Linked DNA regions of Homo sapiens: region 2 is linked to region 1. Evidence: promoter capture Hi-C in human tissues and cell types (Jung and others, 2019). All regions are on one chromosome and are shown on one strand. Each heading gives the region's core, a stretch centred on a gene start or on the middle of the fragment in contact. The rest is flanking DNA. Distances are from core to core; before and after follow the strand shown.

Region 1 (6,839 bases), core at 1,162-3,661:
TTGAACATTATTTCTCCAGCAGTCTAATCTCAATATCGTTACTCTCAATCAGTACTTTTTAGAAGAATATATAATCATAAGTCATGACAAATGTTTCATAAATGTTCAATGAAAGAACTGGATACACTTTATAGACAATATAATCACAATTTTATTTTTAAAAAGTATATATTAATCCCATACGTAACAAAATATGAATGTTTCTCTAAGTAAGATGATGTATGATTTCAATTAACTCATTTTTTCTGTATGTTCTATGTTTTAGAAATTAAATCCTGTTCTTTTCTAATCAGAAAGAAATTAATGTTATTTTATAAAAAGAAGCTTTAAGCCGGGCACAGTGGCTCACGCCTGTAATCCCAGCACTTTGGGAGGCCGAGGTAGGTGGATCACCTGAGGTCAGGCGTTTGAGACCAGTTTGGCCAAAATGGTGAAACCTCGTCTCTACTAAAAATACAAAAATTAGCCGGCCGTGGTGGTGCATGCCTGTAATCCCAGTTACTCAGGAGGCTGAGGCAGGAGAATTACTTGAACTCAGGAGGCGGAGGTTGCAGTGAGCCAAGATTGCACCACTGCACCCCAGCCTGGGCAAGAGAGCAAGACTCTGTCAAAAAAAAAAAAAGCAGCAGCAGCTTTATCAGTAAATGAGTATCATCATAAAAGTGCCTATGTTATGTCAAGAAACAACTGTGTGCAAGAGTGAAGGAAAATGAATGAAGGACATTTGGGATAATAACCCAAGTGTTTTAGTTTGTGACTAACAGTTGACAAGTGTGAAAGATGTCAAAATAATATATGCCAGACTAGATTGTTGATTTAGGCCTGGGAGAAAAAAGAGTCAAACACATCCCAGGAATTATTTGCAAACACAACATCCAGAAAAGGAATAATTGCCAAGAAAAGTTGAAAGGGACATGATGAGTTCAAATTAAGACATTCAGATATTCAGTGAGTGTGGTTCAACCAAAAAGAGCTTTTCTAATAGGCAGATGGAAAACGGTCTTAATAGTAAATGTAATCAATTGATCAAATCCTGGAGAGTAAATGAGAGAGTAACTTATAAAGGGGTGTATTTGAAGTCATGCATTTAAACAAGCCAACAAAAGTATGGAAGTTAAGTATGGAAAGAGAAGAGTGGGGCCGCATGCCGTGGCTCACGCCTGTAATCCCAGCACTTTGGGAGGCCGAGGCAGGCAGATCATTTGAGGTCAGGAGTTTGAGACCGACCTGGCCAATGTGGTGAAACCCCGTCTCTACTAAAAATACAAAAATTAGCCAGACGTGGTGGTGCATGCCTGTAGTCCCAGCTACTCAGGAGGCTGAGGCAGGAGAACCGCTTGAACCCTGGAGGTGAAGGCTACAGTGAGTGGAGATCGCGCCACTACACTGTCTCAAAGAAAAAGAAAAGAAAGAGAAGAGCAAAGCGCTAGGACTAAAACCCACAGATGTTAAAATTTAGTGAAATGAATGTTAGTCATCTCCATCAGTATTTAATAACAGTTGGGCAGCAGATAGCCAAAGGCTGCAAACTCTGACAGTAATAACGATGCTAATAATATCAACAGCCTTTTCTTTATTCATTCAACAAATATTTACTGAGCACCTATCACCAGGTAAGCAAAGTAAATTATGTGGAGTTTAGAAGAAAATTAATGCTATGAAGGAAAATAAAGCCTGGAAGGAGGATGAGGAACGCCTGAGAGGGGGATGGGGCACTTACAAATTTAAACAAAGTGGCCAGGAAAGGCCCAACTGTGGAAGTGACATTTGGGCAAAGACTGGAACGAGCTAAGGGGTGAACCCTGAGTCCACCTGGGTGAAGAGCCTCCCTAACAGGGGAAACCACAAGTGTAGAGGCCCAGACATTGTATTGGAGGACTGGCAGGGACACCAGTGTGGCTGGAGCAGGGTGAGTGGAGATCTTTCTCCCCTAGGAGATGAGGCCAGGGTGGTGATGCGTGAGGGGCTCCTGCCTTCTAGGTACTGAGCTGCTCGTTTTGCATAAATCCTCTTATTTTATCCCATCCCCCTCTCAGGCGTTCCTCATCATCCTTCCAGGTTTTATTTTTCTTCATATCATTAATTATCTTCTAAATTCCACATAATTTACTTTGCTTACAACACCCCCATGAGTTAGATGCCATGTAACAGGCATGGAAACTGAACCTCAGAAAGAGTAAGTGACATTCTCAAGGCCATACAGCTGTTCAAGACAGAGCTGGGATTCAAATTCCAATCTATAGGCACTGAGTTCAGAGCCCTCCTGGGCCATACCCAGCACCCCACACTGAGTTTTGTTTCTAGCCCCTCAAGCAAACTCAGCAAGGGCTGCCAGGCAGGGCCCCCTCTTACTCAACAATGGCCCATTCTTCTACAGGGTCACCCCTGGTCCTCTAGAACCCCAGAACTCAGAACTTTGCTGCTGAGGCTGCTGTGGCCTCTGTGTGCCCAGGAAGGGACTTCATTTCTGCCTGTGGATTCTTTAGAATGCCCAGTCGTCTGCGGGTCCTGCCCTGATCACAAGGAGAAGCCAGGAGCCTCCTCTTCAGGCTACAACCTTCCTTCTTAAGGGCCACAGAGTTTGTGGCCCCACCCCCAGCACAGCCCCACCTTGGCCCCAGGAACCCTGGGAGTGGCCTTGGCTTCCTGCAGGTATGAGCTTCAGTGAAAATGGGAAATCTGACTGATGGGCCCTGCCTTGGGAGGCTTTTCTCTACCAGGAGTCACCAGTTTAAGTTTTAAGTGTCAGTTTTGGTGTATAGATGGCTACACATTAGGATCAACTTGAGGATTTTAAAAAATAATAATAATGCCCAGACTCACCCAACCCCAGATCAATTAAATTAGAACCTACTGGGTTTGGGTTTGAACATCAGTATTTTTTATTAAACTCTCCAAGAGATTCTCAGCATAGTCATGGTTGAGAACCACTGAAATGAACCAATGGGGTTTGCTGTAAGAGTTAAATTAGGCCATTCATTCATTCATTCAACAAACATTCATTGAGTTCCAAATCTGGTACAGGCACTGTTCTGAAGGGGAGAAAACAGCTGTGAACAATGGTATTTACATTAAAAAGTTCAAAATGACAACAACAACAAAGTACACTCATAAATAATAATACAAAATATGATGCAAACAATGGTGATATGGCAGAGAGTGCTGAAAGCTGAGATGGGGTGAGACAGAGTGGCCCGGGAAGACCCTTCTGATGAGCGTGGATTCGAGCTAGGACCCAGAGAACCAGAAAAGGCTGACGATGTGAGGGAAGGGTGCCCCAGACAGAGGCAAAGGCCCCGGGTAGGGTGTGCTTGGGAAAGGGAAGAGGCCAGTGTGGCTCCCCAGAGTGCGGGAGGAGAGAGAGAGAGGAGGGCGATAAGGTCAGATGGGTCCAGAGCCAGTGGGGCCTGGTAGACCACAGAGAACAGTTTGGCTGGTGTGCGGTTTTGCGAATGGATTGTAAAAAAAAAAGAGGCAGAAGCTTTTTTTTGCACAAAAGTGAGCACCTTTTGATAGGCACAGTGGTGTGATGGAATTCCTGTGTCGAAAGGAAATCTCTGCTGGGCACGGTGGCTCACGCCTGCAATCTCAGCACTTTGGGAGGCCCAGGCAGGTGGATCACCTGAGGTCAGGAGTTTGAGACCAGCCTGGCCAACATGGTGAAATCCCGTTTCTACTAAAAATACAAAAATTAGCCGGGCATGGTGGCGGGTGCCTGTAGTCCCAGCTGCTAGGGAGGTTGAAGCAGGAGAATCGCTTAAACCCAGGAGGCGGAGGCTGCAGTGAGCCAAGATCATGTGATTGCACTCCAGCCTGGGCAACAAGAGCAAAACTCTGTCTCAAACAATAAAAATAAAAATAAAGGAAATGTCTGATTGTTGTGTGGGGAATGGGTTGAGGTGAAGCACAAAGAGTAGAAGCAGAGGCAGGATCAGTAAGGAGGTTACCACACCCTCTTGGCGGGAAACCACAGTGGCTGGGACATGGGGTCTCTCCACGGCATACAGGGAGAATGCACACAGGGAGAATGTGGAGGGAATGCACACAGTTGACACTCAGCACAATATGGCTGGTGACCAGCCCCTCGATTTTGGCTATTCTCATTAATAAAAGTTTCCCATGACAGCCACTCTCCTCTGAGTAGGGGGTAGGGAGCTGATGTTGGAGCTGAGCTTGGACTTTGTGAGGCTGGGGGACACAGCGGAGCCACAGTGGTGTCAGGCTAGAAAGGCAGGTGCCGGCAGAACCAAGGGCCAAGGCTGAGAGAATAAAGGGGCAGGTCAGGGCAGGCTGCAGGCAGGATGGCTGAGAGCACAGTCCCAGGGCTGGACAGGGTGGATGCTACAGTCTCAGGGGAGCCCTGGGATGCTGCAGAGCTGAGCCAGGTATTGTGGGAGAGATTGGGAGAAAAAACAGCAGCAGGGCAGAGAGAGACTATTTCTCCCACACTCCCAGAAATGCAAATACAGTAGTTCACTTCTTTGCTTCCCTTAGTCAAATGTCAACTTCTAAATGAAGCTTTCCCACGGTCACCCTATTTTAAAATATCAGCCAGGCACAGTGGCTCATGCCTGTCATCCCAACACTTTGGGAGGCCGAGGTGGGCGGATCACCTGAGGTCAGGAGTTCCAGACCAGCCTGGCCAACATGGCGAAACCCTGTCTCTACTAAAAATACAAAAATTAGCCGGGCATGATGGCACGCGCCTATAATCCCAGCTACTCCAGAGGCTGAGGCAGGAGAATCCTTTGAACCAGGGAGACGCAGGTTGCAGAGAGCCGAGATCGCGCCACTGCATTGCAGCCTGGGCGACAGAGCGAGACCCTGTCTCAAAAGAAAAGAAAAGAAAAGAAAAGATCAACACTCCTCCCTGACTCCAACACTTTTGAATCTTCTCTTATCCACCTTTTCTCCTTTGCATTACCATCATCTGACACACCATTGATTGCATCTATTTATCTCACTGCATTTCCCACTACTAAGATGTAAGGAATATTGTTTGTATCCCTAGCACCTAGAATGGTACTTAACATGTTTTAAGACTTCAAAAATATTTGATGAATGAATGAGTGAGCAAGTGAGTAAAGAGGAGCTGTGGCTGGCTCCGTGGAGCCAAAGGGAAGCCTGGTGGCCAGAGTCTGACCGACTGTGGAGGGCTCTGCTCACTAGCCAGTGGGGCTTGATCTCCGTCCTGTTGGACATGAATCACTGGAAACATTTGAGGCTTATGATCCAGCCTGCCCAGGTTAGCAGGAAACCTGACACCTCCCACTGCCCCTTCCTTGATCAGGAACTCAGGGCGAACACTCTGCCAAAGGCCTGGGAGACGAGGACATGAGAGGGAGCCCACTGTAGCTCCTCCCGCCTGGCTTTTGCTCAGAGGCTCAGCCCTCCACGGTGGCTGAGCTGGGCCCATGGTTCAGCTCTGTACCCTGAAGGTGTCCAGCTGACTCAGGGTCACTGGCCCAGTGTCCTCTGTCCTCCAGCAAGTGCCATCCACACCCCTCAGAGATGGTCTCACAATCTTGAATTTCAAGGTTTCTTCTCTGAAGGCCCCTTGAGGCTTTTGCAGATCTGGCCCTTTCCTGCCAGGCAAGGGATTCTGGGCACCGAGGAGGTTTGGAAGGTTTGAAGGGACTGTCAGGCCTAGGACGGTTCTGGGTGACCCTCCCTACCTTACGTTTATGTCACAAAGGAGGGGTTATTCAAGTGACTTTCTGTAGAATAAAAACTAACTCTCTAGTACTTTGATGTCTCCAGCTGGGCAAAGAATTCTTAGGCAGCCGTTTCTCTCACAAGTAAGTGAATCAAAGAACAAATAAACAAGGAAGTAAATTATTTCTAAGAACAAGGGTTCTACCTAATAGTCATCATGCTGTACCAGACTTAGTCCGGGCTGATAAGTGGCATAACACCTGGTGAATTCTGGGACCTTGAGATCATCAAGGACTCAAGGCTGGGCTGACAGTAATGAGCCCTTTGGCTGAGACACAGATTTAAATGGTCTGTATCATTTAGCTGTCCAGAAAACCAGGTTATCCACTTGCCCTTCTTCCTTTTCTCCACTTGCCCTTTGTTGGTTTCATTTGACCATGTGCTTCTCAAGCTACAAACTGAATGATAGATTTACCTGGGAGAGGCTCAGGAGACAAAACAAGCAATGACAATTCATGGATTTCATTTGAGTCCTGATTTAAACAGACTTAAAATTTATGAGGCCATCAGGGTAATTCGCACACTGTCTAGATATTTGATGATATGATGACATTATTGTGCATTTCATTAAGTATGATCATAGTATTGTGGTTATTGTGTTGTTTTGAAAAATCCTTACCTTTTAAATATTTATAATAAAATATTTATGGGTGAAATGACATGATTCCCAGAATGGATTCAAAATAATCCAAGGCAGGGAGTCAAGAATATAAATAAAATAACATTGGTCATGACAATAAGTGAAGTTGAGTGATGGGTACCTTGGGGGTACCTTGTACCATCTCTCTATTTTTGTACATATTCAAAATTTCCCAAATAGAAGTTGAAATAAAACAAAAGAATCATCTGGGGAGCTTTTGAAACATGTAGGTATCCAGACCCCATCCTGAGCAATTCTGAATTAATTGGTCTGGAGTGAGATTGAGTGTCAGTATTCTCCTAAAAGCTCCCCAGAGGATTTTCATGTGTATCCAGGGTTAAAAAGAGCTAACCAAGCTGCAAAAAAAAAAAAAAAAAAGTATCATCTGATTCCATTTATATTTAAAAATATACATTCAGGCTGGGTGCAGTGGATAATGCCTGTAATCCCAGCACTTTAGGAGGCTGAGGCAGGCAGATCACTT
Region 2 (6,839 bases), core at 2,248-4,747, 200 kb after region 1:
AGTGGTGCAATCTAGGTTCAATGCAACCTCTGCCTCCCGGGTTCAAGTGATTCTCCTGTCTCAGCCTCCCGAGTAGCTGGGACTACAGGCATGCGCCACCACGCCCTGCTAATTTTTGTATTTTTAGTAGAGACAGGGTTTCACCATGTTGGCCAGGATGGTCTCAATCTCTTGACCTCATGATCCACCCACCTAGGCCTCCACAAGTGCTGGGATTACAGGCGTGAGCCACCGTGCCTGGCCAGAATTTGTATTTTTTTAAACCTTCTCTGGTACTCCCTCTGATCACCCCAATTTGGGATGACTGAGAAAAACTCATACCAAACGACTTGGTTCAAACTCCCAGGAATACGTGTAATTTCAACAAAAGACAATTTCTTATAATTCAGAAGGGCGGATGGTCGGTCTAACATCAGAAGAACACTTAGTTAGAAAACGTGAGCTTTCTAGTTTTATCAAACTAAACCAGGTGGTCACCATTCATTTCACCTTGACAGTCTTAGTCAAGTCTTCTTCCCATAAGAGGTTTTTGGAACTTTCCCCTGCATTTAAATAGGGAGTGCCAGTACTGTCAATAACAACTGGGTAGCTGCAAAAAACTGGGGAGTTGCAAAATTAGACCCATGGCAAATAAAAGAAATAGAGTTCCTAGCCTCAAAATGCTGACCACCTAACAGAGTCCACTGATAGGTGACCAGACAACCATAATTGCCATTTGGGAGTGATGAAAAAATGCTGGATAAAAGGAGGCACAAGGTGACAGGGGAGCATAAACATGGATCCCTACTCAGCCCGCAGCATCAGAAAGTCTTCTTGAGGGAAGCAATACCTTGGCTAAGATCTGAAGGATGAGTCAGCCAGGCATAGAGGCTGCAGAGAGGCAAGAGTGCTCCAAGCTGAGGGACCCAGGAGTGCAAAGGCCTGGAGTCCTGAGAGAACCCAGCACATCTGGAGATCTGAAACGTGTTCAGCATGGCTGGAGCACACACAGTGGAGCCACCGATTTCAGAAAGCAGAGGTTCTATGCAGAAGGGAGACTAGACCTTTCAAGGAGGCAACAACAGCAGAAACCTTGGGAGGGCAGAGAGACCTAACCCGGACAGTCCCAAGGATAGAGCTGTGACTTGCTGGTGCCCAGAATAGAGCACTCTCCGCATCCTGCTAACTGGCTAAACAGGAGGAAGTAGTAAATCTGATAGGGCTGGAATGAAATGGCCCTTCCAGATTCATTCTAGAGGAGAATGTAAAGAAGCATTGAAATGTGAAACGCTTTCAATGGACTTCCAAGGGAAGCCCAAACAGAACTCCCTTTATGGGAGGATCTCCATTTAGAGGCAAGCACAATGGGGACACAGTCAATTATCCATCAACACTGCATAGCCTCTTTCAGTCTCCATTCACATTCTTGCATCCAGTCCAAGCAAGCAACATGGAAGACGTGGGCGCAGTGATGCTCGTACACACAAACAAATAAACACACACACACGGACACACACACACACAAGCTCAGTATGAATGCCTGGTTCTGACCCATTCCTCCCACTGAGCTCCACCCTGAGCTCAGTCCTCCTGGCTTCTGACCCTAAGCTGGCTCTCCTGTTTTCAGCTCACCCAACCGTCTATGCTCAGCCCCACCTCCTCAGATTTGCCTTGACTGCCCCGCAGCCACGATTTGAATTTTCCTTCCAGCCAGGCTGCCTTGAAAGCTGCTTCAGTAAATGCTCTCGTCTGTTTGACATGCAGAGTGTTTTGTATGAAAAGATTATAGATCTTGGAGCCTTGTTTTGAAGACTGTCTTTACTCATTCCCAGCAGCATGACCTTGGGCAAGTGATATAACCTCCCTGAGTCTCAGTTGGCTCATCTGTGAAATGGGAACACCACCACCCACCTCAGCATTGCAATGAAGATCAAATGAGAGATCCCTGATTTACTGTAGTATCTGGCACAGAGAAATGCTACATAAGGAAAACTTCCTTTCATTCCCTTTTCCCTTACCAAACCAAGTGGTTTTCTTATGATCCCTAGTCTGAAATTAAGTACTTATTATGATGATCATGGTTTATTTTTCCCAGTTCTCTTGATTATGTTGAACAGAAACCAGATAAGTAGCACTTGTTTAGAATTTCTTGCATTTTTAGTAATTCTAAGAATAACCATTGCAGCACTAATAATGACATATATTTGATTTCTCCCCTGCTTACCCTCAGAGAGTATATTTTTATGCAGCTGGTTGTTTTGGGGATTGTTTCTTTGTTTTATACACTTTTTTGCTGCCCTATTAAGAAGTTATCCTTGCCGGGAGCAGTGGCTCACGCCTGTAATCCAGCACTTTGTGGGGCCAACGCAGGTGGATCGCTTGAGCCCAGGAGTTTGTGACCAGCCTGGCCAATATGGCAAAACCCCGTCTCTAAGAAAAATGCAAAAATTAGCCGGGCATGGTGGCAGGCACCTGTAATCCCAGCTATATAGGTGGCTGAGGCAGGAGAATCGCTTGAACCTGTGAGGTGGAGGTTGCAGTGAGCCGAGATCGCGCCACTGTACTCCAGCCTGGGCTACAGGGGAGACTGTAAAAAAAAAAAAAAAAAAGAACTTATCCTTAAATTATGACAATGCAGTGATGAATGAAGTGTAAGCCCAGAGAGTTTGAGTGGCTTACATCACTCAGCAAAGCCATGGCTGTAGCCCATTATTACAGTGGCTCTCACTCAGAGGTGGCACCCCTCACCATAAGAGTCATTTGGAAATGTAGGGAGCATTTTATGTTTTCATAGTGACCGAGGGGACACCGCTGACCATGGGAGGGTTAAACAATATGCAAAACCATCTTCAATGTGCAGGATTCACCCAGCCCCAATACCTATAGTGTCATGATGAGAAATACCAGGTAAAACCCCATGGAGCCACACAGAAAATTCTGGGGGAACTGGGGCTGGGATCAAGGATTGTTTCCACCCAGAGTAGGTTTTCAATTAAAAAAAAAAAATTTAGAGCCAAGTGTGGTGGCTCATGCCTGTAATTAACGCACTTTGGGAGGCCAAGGTGGGAGGATGGCTTGGGGCCAGGAGCCTGAGAGCAGCCTGGGCAATATAGGAAGGCCGCACCCCTAAAATAATAAATAATTAGCTAGGCATGGTGGTGCATGCCTGTAGTCCCAGGTACTCAGGGGCCTGAGATGGGAGGGTCTCCTGAGGCCAGGAGGCTGAGGCTGCAGTGAGCTATGATGGTGCCATTGCACTCCAGTCTGGGCAACAGAGAAAGACCCTGTCTGTAAAAGAATTCTTAAACATATGTAACAGACATGTAATAGATACAGATGTCAATTTAGCGCTTGTTCTATAAACTAAATGGACAAAATTTTCACAGTACTTTATTTCCTCTGAATTAAATTTTAATCCCAGCCTCATCCCATTGGTCAGTCAGGAAATTCAATCCTAGTTATTATCAGAGCTTCTTCCCACTCTCAAGGACTAAGAAAGAGCCTCAAAGTTCTTAGAAAGTGCCAAATATTCTGAGCGATCTCAAGCCACTTAGCCCTCTGGAGTCAGGCAGCTGTACTGCTGATGAGTCTTGTTTGGCCGTGGGAGCCTCAGTGGAGGCTGGAAGCCAGCACCTAAGTACACCTTCAAGGAGGCACCTTGACCATCAGCTTGAGCTCTTAACACCCTTACGAGGAAGCCAACCACAGATTTCAACGCCTCCCAGAGCCTGACCACCTTCCTAGACTAAGGATTCACTTTTCTCTTCTCTCTGTGCTTCTTACATCTGCTCCAGCCCCCAGAAGAACTTGTCTCCCTCATCCTCACTTTTTCAAGACCCATCTAACATTATTTCCTGAATAAGCTTTGATTTTCAAAACCAAATGTTAGGAAGGAGGTCCACCTTCCAGACGAAACATACAAAGGACTGGCTACCTTCTCAGAAAACACCTCATTTTATTTATTCTGAGATGTGCATTTTTCTTGTGTCATCGGTTAATTGGTAGTATGTTTTGTTTTTTCTTAGTGAAATACAAAACAGTGGTGCCTTTTAAAAATCAATAGCATTTTAAATTCAATGGGATAGGGAACAGGAAAACAAAGCACAAATGAAGACTTTAATAGGCGATCCAGCCCCACACTGCCAAGATAGAACCCTCACTCAGCTCACAGGGAGCAGCTAAAGGCTGGAAAATTGAAATGTCCCTGAGAAAACATGACAGTGTCAGTGAAGAAAGAATTCCAATATTTGTCTGTGGTTTGTAATTTCTAGACACAGGCCCTGAAGTCCCTGTGTCCCTGGATGAGCTCCCCAAGTATTGCCAAATGGAGACAAAAAAGACAGAGCTTCGAGCTCCAGCACAGCAAGTCTTTGACTGGAATGGAGTGGAGGAAGGACCTGTCCACCAAGTGGCTTTAGGGACTCTGGCTTGATGTGAAGTGGATTAGCTTCAAGTTGACGATTATCCTTTCTGAACACCAAGCATGCCTCATGGCTTTCCTGATCATTCATTTAGAACAAGACGCTGCCTTTGAAATCCTGGGGGATTGGTTCTGCCTGACCTCCTAAAACACATCTCCTGTCCCTGTCTCTTCTAAGCCTGGTTCAGCAGAAGGGGTACAGGCTTCAGAGGGGACCCAGACAGACCTGCTTTTACATCCCAACCCCTCCAGATATTAGATGTTGTAAACAAACTACTTAATCTCTTTGGTGCTAGGTTATTTCGTTTCTTTCTCTTTCTTTCATTCTTTCTTTCTTTCTTTTTCTTTCTTTCTTCCTTCTTTCCTTCCTTCCTTCCTCCCTCCCTCCTTCGTTTCTTTCTCTTTCTTTCACTTACGCTCATGTAACCTTTACTATGTGTCATATACCATCCTAAACACTTCACAAAATTATTTTTTTTAATCCTCAGAACAGCCTATCAAGTAGATGTTACTGTTTTTAACATCTTTGTTTACAGTCTAGGAAACTGAGGTATGGGGGTTTATGTTATTCACCTGTGTTCACATAGCCAGTAAGCAACCAAGTGAGGATTCAGTTGCAGACAGCCTGGGCCCAGGGTTGTGAATTTCCCTACTGTCCTCTGCCTTGCTCCCTCTCTTGTCAGCAAAAAATAATAACATCTTCTAGGTTATTCTGACACTTAAATGATGTATGTAAAGTCCCTGCCACGCAGTAGGGCTTGAAGAAATGATAGTAATCCAAGTCAACAAAAATATACTCTGGGGAAGACACACTTCAATAAGTGGTGCTGGGAAAATTGGATAGCCATATGCAGAAGAATGAAACTGGACCCATATATCTCAGCATATACAAAAATTAACTCAAGTTGGATTAAAGACCTAAACAGAAGACCTGAAACTATAAAAATTCTGAAAGAAAACCTAGGAAAAACTCTTCTGGACGTTGGCCTAGGCAAAGAATTTATGACCAAGTCCTCAAAAGCAAACGCAATAAAAACAAAATAGACGAATGGGACTTAATTAAACTGAAAAGCTTCTGCACAGCAAAAGAAACAATCAATAGAGTAAACAGACAACCTGCAGAATGGGAAAAAAATATTTGCAAACTATGCATCCAACAAAGGGCTAATATCCAGAATCTACAAGGAACTCAAACAACTCAACGAGAGAAAAAAATAACCCGAATAAAAAGTGGGCAAAGGACATGAACAGACATTTTTCAAAAGAAGAAATACAAGAGACAAACAAACGTCTTTTTAAAAATGCTCAACATCACTAATCATCAGAAAAATGCACAAATCCCAATGATATACTGTCTTACACCAGTCAGAATGGCTATTATGAAAAAGTCAAAACCAACAGATGCTGGCAAAGATGCAGAGAAAAAGGAACACTTATATGCTGTTGGTGGGAATGTAAGTTAGTAAAACCTTTATGGAAAAGCAGTGTGGATATTCCTCAAAGAACTATATATACAGAGCTGCCATTCAATCCAGAGAATCCCGCAAATATTTTTTCTCATTTTCCCAAAGGAAAAAAACGTCATTATATCAAAAAGATACTGCACTCATATGTTTATTGCAGCACTATTCATAAGAGCAAAGATATGGAATCAACCTAAGTGTCCATCAACAGAGGAGTGAATAAAGAAAATATGGTAATTTCATATAATACATATTTTATGGTATAATGTATAAATATAATACACATATTTATATGGTATATATGGTGGGTATATATACCATTATATATTTCATATTATATATAAAATTTTATACTTTTATTCATATAAAATTTATAATTATATATAAATAATATATAAATATATAAAATTTTATATTATGTGTGTATGTGTGTGTGTATATCTATATATACATATATATGTGTGTATATATATATATATATATATATATATATATATATCTCACCATGGAATACTACTCAGCCATAAAAAAGAGTGAAATCATCTCTTTAGCAGCAACATGAATGGAACTGGAGGCCATTATCCTGAGTAAAATAACTCAGAAACTAAAAGTCAAATACTAATACTGCATGTTCTCACTTATAAGTAGGGGCTAAACAATGGATACATGTGGGCATACAGAGTGCAATAATAGACACTGCTGACCCAAAAAGATCAGAGGGCAAAAGGGGGATGAGGGCTGAAAAATGACCTATCGGGTATAATGTTCAGTATTGGGGTGATGGGTACTAAAAGCCTAGACTTCACCACAACACAATACAGGCATGTAAGAAATCTACACTTGTACCTCCCAAATATATAAACATTTCTTAAAATTCTTTTTAAAGAAATAATACTCATCAACTTCATTCTCTGGGCTTCCACTCTTTTAATTCACATAAATAAATTATACTTGTATTGTTTTATAAGCTTAGAAAA

The links. The method cuts DNA at HindIII sites, captures the fragments that hold promoters and counts their contacts. A contact is called where the count stands out against the background at its distance.
Region 2: a fragment that was not itself captured here is called in contact with the fragment with the promoter of PDILT in region 1 in 2 of the 25 tissues and cell types used here (mesenchymal stem cells and spleen).

Annotation. Positions count from the first base shown.
Region 1 is chr16:20,400,309-20,407,147 of GRCh38, reverse strand. It overlaps PDILT (protein disulfide isomerase like, testis expressed), which reads left to right and starts at 2,411. Exons shown (of 12, transcript NM_174924.2): 1 at 2,411-2,652. The HindIII fragment of the contact is 3,912 bases long and covers 89-4,000 here.
Region 2 is chr16:20,197,965-20,204,803 of GRCh38, reverse strand. No RefSeq gene overlaps it. Among named protein-coding and RNA genes, the nearest start is that of GP2, 130 kb to the left of the region's middle. The HindIII fragment of the contact is 5,308 bases long and covers 844-6,151 here.